Linked DNA regions of Homo sapiens: region 1 is linked to region 2. The links are contacts of gene promoters, found by promoter capture Hi-C in blood cells and fetal thymus (Javierre and others, 2016). All regions are on one chromosome and are shown on one strand. Each heading gives the region's core, a stretch centred on a gene start or on the middle of the fragment in contact. The rest is flanking DNA. Distances are from core to core; before and after follow the strand shown. Region 1 has its middle 21 kb from the start of CCND1. Region 2 holds the start of TPCN2 (two pore segment channel 2).

Evidence for each region. The method cuts DNA at HindIII sites, captures the fragments that hold promoters and counts their contacts. A CHiCAGO score of 5 or more calls a contact.
Region 1: a contact is called between a fragment that was not itself captured here and the fragment with the promoter of TPCN2 in region 2, in 1 of 17 cell types (activated CD4 T cells). The highest score is 5.5, in activated CD4 T cells.

The regions. Positions count from the first base shown.
Region 1 is chr11:69,617,341-69,622,102 of GRCh38, reverse strand. No RefSeq gene overlaps it. Among named protein-coding and RNA genes, the nearest start is that of CCND1, 21 kb to the left of the region's middle. The HindIII fragment of the contact is 1,562 bases long and covers 1,004-2,565 here.
Region 2 is chr11:69,047,036-69,051,547 of GRCh38, reverse strand. TPCN2 (two pore segment channel 2) reads right to left here and starts at 2,616. Exons shown (of 25, transcript NM_139075.4): 1 at 2,442-2,616. The coding sequence starts at 2,550. RefSeq lists an enhancer at 1-212 and silencers at 2,189-2,288, 2,369-2,538, 2,659-2,878. The HindIII fragment of the contact is 3,554 bases long and covers 1-2,876 here.

The sequences.
Region 1 (4,762 bases), core at 535-3,034, 570 kb before region 2:
TCCTTCCTTCCCTTTCTTTTTTATGGAGTCTCGCTCTGCTGCCAGGCTGGAGTGCAGTGGCGCAATCTGGGCTCACTGCAACCTCCACCTTCCGGGTTCAAGGGATTCTCCTGCCTCAGTCTCCCAAGTAGCTGGGACTACAGGCACACGCCACCACGCCCAGCTAATTTTTGTACCTTAGTAGAGACAGAGTTTCACCATGTTGGCCAGGATGGTCTCCATCTCTTGACCTCGTGATCTGCCCGCCTCGGCCTCCCAAAGTGCTGGGATTACAGGCGTGAGCCACTGTGCCTGGCCACTGTGGCCACTTTCAAGCTATACATGACTTAACAAATGGCTGGCAAATTTTCTGAATATTTAAGAGTTGTCTCTTGCCAGCTGGCAGGGATAAATTTTTCATCTTTATTATGCTGCTTCTTCCTAACAGGAGCGGGAAAAATTCTGTTTTTTATTTATCTTCCTTTATTTCTCCTATTAGGGTCTCACAATGCCCTTTGGGTAAGCATCTTATGTCGCCAATTAAATGGATATACAATTATTTGATTTTTAAATTGCTCTTGAATTCTCTTTTATTTTACATGCATTTTCTAGTTGCATTATATTCATGTAAGATGCACTTGATTAAATGTCTTCTTATGTATCTTCTGGAAGTAATTTACTGGTACTTTTGGTTGCTTTCCTAGGTTTATAATCATGGCTAAAAGACAATTCACATTTTAATGTCTTCTATTCTTATATTTACATGTTATTTCTTTTTCTTATTGATAGCTTTTGCCAGTGTTTCTAGTTTTAATTTAGTTTTATATTAAAATAGGAGTGGTAACCAGACAAGCGAGAGCATGTCCAGATTTTTAGTGCTAATGACTTTCTATTCCTTAAGCAATAATTGGCCTTTTTTTTTTTTTTTAAAGAGCTAGGGTTTTGCTATGCTGCCCAGGCTGGACTGCAGTAGCTGTCTACATGCATGATCATAGCTCACTGTGCAGCCTTGAATTCCTAAGCTTAGTTCATCTCCCTGCCTCAGCCTTCTGAGTAGCTGGGACTACAGGCACACACCACTGTGCCTGGTGGCTTTTGGTTTTAAATCCATAATCTTGGCCAGGTGCAGTGGCTCATGCCTGTAATCTCAGCATTTTAGCAGGCTGAGGAGGGAGGATTGCTTAAGCCCAGGAGTTTAAGAACAGCTTGGGCAACATGGCAAAAACCTGTCTCTACACAAAATGCAAACACTTAGCCGACTGTGGTAGAGTGCACCTGTAGTCCCAGCTACTCATGAGACTTGAGGTGGGAAGATTGCCTGAGCCTGGGGAGGTAGAGGCTGCAGTGAGCCAAGATTGTGCCACTGCACTCCAGCCTGAGTGACAGAGCAAGACCCTGTCTCAAAAAATAAAAAATAAAATTCCATAATCTTTATCATATTTAGAATAAAACCTGTCCCACAAATTTGTAGTGACTTTTTTTCAAATGCCTCCTTGATATTTATTGAGATAATTAAATGGACCTTGCTATTTCTCATGCTAATATGATAAATCATGTAAATCATTTTCCTGCTTGAATGCCACCGATATAGTCTTGGGATAAACTCTTCTTGGTTGCTATAGACCCTTTTTTTTTTTTTTTTAACTGGCAAGAGTCTCTGCTTGTATTTGGAATTTTAAGATAAACCTTTTATTCTGAAATAATTTTTATTTTTTTGAGACAGAATCTCGCTTGTCGCCCAGGGCCCAGGCTAGGGTGCAATGGTGTGATCTCGGCTCACTGCAACCTCCACCTCCCAGGTTCAAGAGAGTATCCTGCCTCAGCCTCCCAACTAACTGGGATTACAGGCATGTGCCACTGCACCCAGCTAATTTTTGTATTTTTAGTAGAGACGAGGTTTCACCATGTTGGTCAGGCTGGTCTTGAACTCCTGACCTCAGGTGATCTGCCCGCCTCGGCCTCTGAAAGTGCTGGGATTACAGGTGTGAGCCGCCATGCCCAGCCAATTCTGGAATAATTTTTGATAGTACAGAGTTCCCATATACCTCTCACCTGGTTTCTCCTATTGTTAACATCTCACATAACCACAGTACATTTGCCAAAGCTAAGAAACCAACACTGATATATTACTGTTTGATATAGTTTAGCTCTGTGCCCCCACCCAACTCTCACCTTGAATTGTAATAATCTCCACATGTCAAGGGTGGGGCCAGGTGGAGATAATTGGATCATAGAGGTGGTTTCCACCATGCTGTTCTCATGAGAGCGAGTGACTTCTTGTGAGATCTGATGGTTTTATCAGGGATTTCTTCTTCCACTCAGCACTCATTCTCTCTCCTGCTGCCCTGTGAAGAGGTTTCTTTTGCCATGATTGTAAGTTTCCTTAGGCCTCCCCAGCCATGCAGAACTGTGAGTCAATTAAACCTCTTTTCTTTATAAATGACCCACTCTTTGGTATTTCTTCATAGCAGTGTGAGAATGGACTAATGCACTGTTCATTAAACCCCAGACTTCTCTGGATTTGGCTAGTTTTCTTATTTGTGTTAGGATAGCCAAGGTCCATGTTCATGACTAATCTTTAAAGCTTCGCTGTTCTTAGTTTGATTCAAAACTCTAATCGTGTCATACTCCCATTGTGTCCCCCATTTTATATATATTTCTAATAGTTGATTTAGTGGAAGGATTATTTGTTCCTTGAAGGATACTAATTTTTCATGGTTTGAACTAAGTTGATAAACATGTGTAGAAGGTTAATATACTGTGATAATATTCTGTGTTCTTTGCTGTTCTAGAAGAATCCAAAGAAAACGAGAGCTATTTTTTTTTTTTTCTGTTTCCTACTTCTCCTTCCAGAGGGCAAGTGATACCTTGAGATAAGAGAGATAAGAGGACCAAGCTGCTCTGGCCCCAGGGAAGGGTTAAGACACTTTTCTTGGCTGGGCGTGGTGGCTCACACCTATAATCCCAGCACTTTGGGAGGCTGATGTGGGCGGATCATGAGGTCAAGAGATTGAGACCATCTTGGCCAACATGGTGAAACCCCGTCTCTACTAAAAATACAAAAATTAGCCGGACGTGGTGGTGCTCACCTGTAGTCCCAGCTACTTGGGAGGCTGAGGCAGGAGAATCTCTTGAACTTGGGAGGCGGAGGTTGCAGTGAGCCGAGATCATGCCACTGTACTCCAGCCTGGTGACAAAGCGAGACTGTGTCTCAAACAAACAAACAAACAAACAAAACAGACACTCCACTTTTAGAAAAGGGTTGAAATTTCTCAAGGGTTAGAGGAAGCTCTAGGGTTTGCAACAGGGCCTGGGAAGGAGTGGCCTAACTAAATGTGGCCAGACCTGGCAGACAAGATGGAGGCTCTATTTAAAAGAGGGGACATTCCAAGAGTGGGAAAGACCCTTGCGGTGTTCCTCCAGAGCACCCAGGAAAGTAGCAGGTCTCTGAGAAGTAGGGGAGAGAGAAGGAGACAGTTTTGGGGTGGGGCTCACTTCTTAGGATCCCTGTGCATCCTGGCATAGCAGGATGGAGCCCACCTTCACGTGGCCAACGAGAGCCACTCCTGGGCAGCCCAGATGGACCAAAGACCAGCGTCCTCTCTCCCACCGTGGAACCATGTAACTTACCAAATGCTTGTGTGACCCAGATGATGCTAACTTTCTGGAATCCCAGGATTGTCCTTGAACCTGGCCTTTCTTCTGTGGACATGCATTCCCTCAGTGATCTCATTCAGCTCAGGGATTTAAGTCCCATCTCGATACTGACCACCCACCCCCACGTTGATGTCTCCCACCTGGAAACCTCCCCTGGTCCCCACATTCATTCATGGGACACCTGCCCCTGCCACCTCGTGAATATTTCAGGCTTCAGGTTAATGAGACGTACCAAACGTGTTCACAACTGAACCCCTGATCCCCTCCCAATCTCAGCTGGTGGAGACTCCATTTCTCTAGTTGTTCAAGCCCAAACCTTGCAGTCATCCCTGACTCACCTTTTCCCCTCACACCCCATACCCACCCCCTCCCAGCTTTCCCTTCAGAATATTCCTAACCCCGACTGCTTCTCAGCACCTCTTCTGCTCCTTTTCTGGCCTCAGCTGCGTTGTCTGTCACTGGGATTATCGCTATAGTCCCCTAGCTGTCCCTCTGTCTCCGCCCCCATATCAGAGTCAGGCTGGTTTCGCTGCAGTAACAAAAAACCCCATCTCTGTGGCTGGAAACAACAAAGGCTCTGTTCTCCTTCGTGCTGGGCACCCACTGTGTGCCAGGGGGCTCGGGGCCCTGGGCGCCAGCTGGTCACCATGCCAGAGGAAGAGAGGGCGTGGCTGAGCTGTCCTGGCTCTGAAAGTGTCTACTCAAGGGACATCACCCTTGCGACATTTTGTTGGCCTTTGAGTGGGGAGGATAGTGCAATCTATCCTGTGTCTGACATGAGACAGAGCTGGGACATCTGTGGCTGGTCCCAGTGCCCCTCGTCCCCCAGGACATTCTCTGTTTCACTCAGAGAAAAGATCAATTCCTTCTGCTGCCCTGAGGTCCTGCACCATTTCTCCCCACCCTCAGTGGGTCCTCCCCACTCTCTCTGGCCTCTGCCCCTACAGTTTCCCCCACACTCACCCTGCTGAGCCCGGCCAGCTTCTCTGCTGAGCCTCTGATGCATCAGGCACACTCCTGCCTCAGGGCCCTTGCACTGGCTACTCCCTTGACCCGGAATGCTCTTTCCCTAGCTAGCTGCAAGGCTGGCGTCCTCCTGGGCTTGAACTCTTCAAATGCTGTGCTC
Region 2 (4,512 bases), core at 1,367-3,866:
CCCTGTTGCTCCAGGCTCCAGGCTGCACAACCTGTGTAGGGTCCTGACCATCATCCTCTGTGACCCTGGGCAAGTCCCTTAACCTCTAGGTGCTCCAGGTCCTCATGGACCCCCACCCAATAGGAGCTAAGTACAGACTGAATGACTTACTATAGCCAGAGTACTTTGCTAAGTGAGCCCTTCATAAGCATTCAGTTACTCTGAAAGCCTCTACAGCATCGCAATCCCTTGTCCTCTGACTTGTTTGATAACCAGTAAAAGTGTGATTTTTCTGACCCAGCAACAAGAGAAAACAACTGTTCTCAACCTTTGACCCCGGCCCCATCAGGTGGGGCCAAGTCAAAACGACCCAACAGCAGGGTCCACTGGGGTCCTTGGGGCACCCACAGCAGCAGCCCTCACCACAACCCGTTGGCAAGAGACCAACCACAGGACTTGCAAACCAGAGCACAGGGCCTTCATTTCAAAGCCTGGCACAGGCCTCAGCACAGAGACTGAATGAGCCTTTCGGAGTCTCCATGGCTCCATAGTCTGCCAGTCCTTGCTGGGGACCCTGGCCAAGGGGATTCAGAACACAGAGCGTCCTGTCCACGTTCTCAGAAGCCCTGGCTGAGGCCACAGCATAGGGACAAAGAGCGCTCCCCGAGAGCCTCCTCTTGTCAGCCACACTGCCCAGCAGAGCGGGTCTCACCTGCCAGGGAGGACCTGCAATGATCACAGAGCTTACCCAGGACGGCCACTGGCCCCCACACCAGCCCGCCGGGCCCTGTGCTGAGGACAAACTCTGGATTCTCTCTGAATCCTCACAATGCCCGCCAGGCAGTCCTTAGTATTATCTCCCTTTTACTGAGATTCGGAAAGGTGAAGCATGGCCAGGCACAGTGGCTCACGCCTGTAATCCCACCACTTTGGGAGGCCGAGGCAGGCAGATCACCCGAGGTCAGGAGTTTGAGACCACCCTGGCCAACACAGTGAAACCCCATCTCTACTAAAAATACAAAAATTAGCCAAGTGTGGTGGCGGGCGCCTGCAGTCCCAGCTACTTGGGAGGCTGAGGCGGGAGAATCGCTTCAACCCAGCAGAGGTAGAGGCTGCAGTGAGCCGAGATCACGCCACTGCACTCCAGCCTGGGTGACAGAGTGATACTCCATCTCAAAAAAGAAACAGAAAGGTTAAGCAACCTGCCAAGGTCACACAGCCAGTGCAGCCCCAGAAAGGCGCCCAGACCCCTAGACACAAAGTCTGTGTTCCCTGAACGGTGCCATATGCTGGGCGTCTCATCAAGGGGCCTGCCAGAGCTGCTCCCTGCAGATCTCCTTCCTGACTGGTCCCAGGAAGCACCTGAAGAACTTCCTGGAGGCAGCTTCTGAGGTGAGCAGACAGGGTGGCCACCTTGGCCTCTGGTTTTTCATCTCTCGTCAGGGTCCCCTCCTTGGCCCCTCATTACTCCATGGATGGGCACATGCCACAGACCAGTGGGTGGGCACCAGGATTCCAACCCAGTTCCTTCCAGACAGAGGAGGAAAGAAGGAAAGAGAGGCCAGAGAGGGAAGGAGCCAGGTGTGAATTCTCAGAGTGGTTCGAGCAGCAGCCGCACCAGAACAGAGGGCTGTGACCTTGGGCAGGTCTCAGGGCCTCTCTGGGCCTCAGTTTCCTCATCTGTGAAGTGAAGCTAAGGTCCTTCCACCTCTTAATCCAGAATCTCATTCCCCTGGTGTCAGCGAGGGGCGGACGCACCCCACCCTCGGGGGGCGGATTCAGCAATCTTCAGACCAGGACAAAAAACGGGAAGGGCAGGAGGGAGTGCAGAGGGGACTCTGGGGTGGCAGAGGGCAAGGAGAGGAAGCCGCCCCCGTCTAGGGGGCCCGCCCCAGCCCCACGGGAAGTGGGACGGGGAAAGGCACCCTACAAAGAAAGGACTCCTAGCTCCCAACTGGTTCGAATCCCACCTCGGCCACTTACTGGGTGTGTGACCTTGGGTAGGGTAACGCCTCTCTGTGAGCCTCTGCTTTTTCCAGAAGAAACGGGAAAAATCAAAGTGCTGCCTTCTCTGAGTCAATTAGGCGACCCTCATTACGGCGACAGTCGGGAAGTATGGGGTCTGGGCCCGCCCGGGCACACGGAGGGTGCCTGCCGCAGGTGGCCGGTTCCCTCGGGGCTGCCCAAGGCTGGGCGAGGGCCTCTTCGCCCAGCTGGTCGGGATCAGGACGCGACACGGAAGAGACCCCAGCTCTGCCCTGACCCCGGTCCGGGTCCGCAGGACGCAGCCCACTCGCCCTCAGAACACCGGCTCGCCTGGCACCCGGCGCGGCCCGGGCCCCGCTCGGACTCGAACCTGGTGGGGGCGCGCCCGGCAGAAAGCGGGGTGCTGGGACAGCGGGACCCCCACGCGCGACCCTGGTCTCCCGGGCCAGTCCCCTCCCCAGGTCCGGGCGGCTCACCAGGGCCGACTTGGATGCTGCGGTAAGTGGTCAGCCCCGCCGGCCAGTCGCCGCCACCGCCGCGGGCCCCGCCCAGCAGGGGCTCCGACTCCGCCTGGGGTTCCGCCATCCAGCAGCCCACGCGCTGGACCCGACCCTCAGAAGCTCAAGCCCCGAAGGCGCCCAGCTTCACTGCGCAGGCGCGGAGACCCCGTCCCTGGCGTTTTTGCTGACGCGCGCACGGCACTGTGGCGCAGGGGATCCCTGCAGTCCCAGCCAATGAGAACGGGGAGGGAGGGGTGGGGTTCTCCTGAGTGGGGCGGAGCTAAAGGGCCCCGCCCCTCTAGGGTGGAGCTCAGCTTCGTTCCACCCAGGGCGGGGCAGCGTTCTGGGGCTTAAGGGCCGAGGGCTGGGGAGGAAATATGTTCTCAAAGGATGTCTTTCCGGCCAGAAGCTTCAGCATCACCTGGAAACATTTTAGAAATGCAAATTCTTGGGCCCTTAAACCTACTAAATCAGCAACTCTGCGGGGAGGACCCAGGAATCTGTGTTTTAACAAGCATTCGGGGTGATTCTGATGCATGTGAGTATTGAGTACACGGGGTGACTGCAAAGGACTCCCCCCAGAATGGAACTGGAGTTTACCCTCTGATGGTGAAATTAGGAGGATTCAATATCATTAAGGGAAAAGTTTAAAAACATATGACACACTTAAAAAATATTTACAACGTATATAAAAAGTGTTTTCAACATTAATGCATAAAGACCTTGTATTCGTTTTCTATTGCTACAGTGACTAATTACCACAATCTGAAAATATAAAATAACTCCCATTCATCATCTTTCAGTCCTGCGGGGCAGGAAACCTCCTGTCTCAGGGCCTCACGAGGCTAGAGTCAAAATGTCAGCTGCCGTGGGCTCTTATCTGCAGACTCTGGGGAAAGCCCACTTCCAGGCTCATCCAGGATGTTAACAGAATTGTCTCCATGGGCCTAGGACTGAAGTCCACGTCTTCTTGCTGGATGTTGGCTGGTGTCATTCTCACTCCTAGAGGCCACTGCATTCCTTCCACGATGGCTTGAACACCTCCATCATCAGAGCCAGCAAGCAAGAGCACGCTGAAGACGCTTCGAGATGCAGCAAGACGCCTGTAATCCCAGCCCTTTGGGAGACCGAGGCAGGTGGATCACGAGGTCAGGAGATCGAGACCATCCTGGCCAACATGGTGAAGCCCCGTCTCTACTGAAATACAAAAAGTTAGCCAGACGTGGTGGCACGTGTCTATAGTCCCAGCTACTCGGAGGCTGAGGCAGGGGAATCGCTTGAACCCGGGAGGCGGAAATTGCAGTGAGCTGAGATTGCGCCACTGCACTCCAGCCTGGCAACAGAGCGAGACTCCATCTCAAAAAAAAAGGTGCTGCAAGACGCTTCCAATCTCTGTGACTTCCCCTTCTGCCATACCTCTTTACTTTTTCCCCCTCTTTTGGGGAGGGGGGAGGGTTTAAAATAAATATAAAATTTACCATCATAACTGTGAAAGGAAAATAAATCTCAGGACTCCAAAATCACTAAGCCAAAGGGAAAAGTCAAGCTGGGAACTGCGTTGGGCAAACTGCCTCGCCTTTTCTTCTTTAATAAAATAGCTACGAAGATTTAAAAAGCTACATACCTCCCTCACAATTTGCCCGCTAGGAAATTTTTCGTGGGCACCCAAGATCTTTACCCTAAAACAGTTTTGTTGAATTTTACCCTAACAATGTACATTGACAACTGATCTTCACAGGTTCCAAACAAAGGATGGAACTCTAAGTCATCCCTCTGCTCACCTGATTGCTTCCTCTGGTATAAAAGTGCAGATTCACCGAGCCAGACTAAGGCATAAGTGACTATTCCTCTACCCCCGCAACCTGTAAATTGTGTATTTCAGTGAAAGTCTGATCAAAGACTCACAAGAATGCAACCTTTGTCTCTTATCTCTCCACATATTTTTAAAATTTCTCCCTCTTTCCCAATATCCACCCTTTCCCTTTTTTTTTTTTTTTTTTTTTTTTGAGACAGAGTCTTGCTTCGTTGCCCAGGCTAGAGTGCAGTG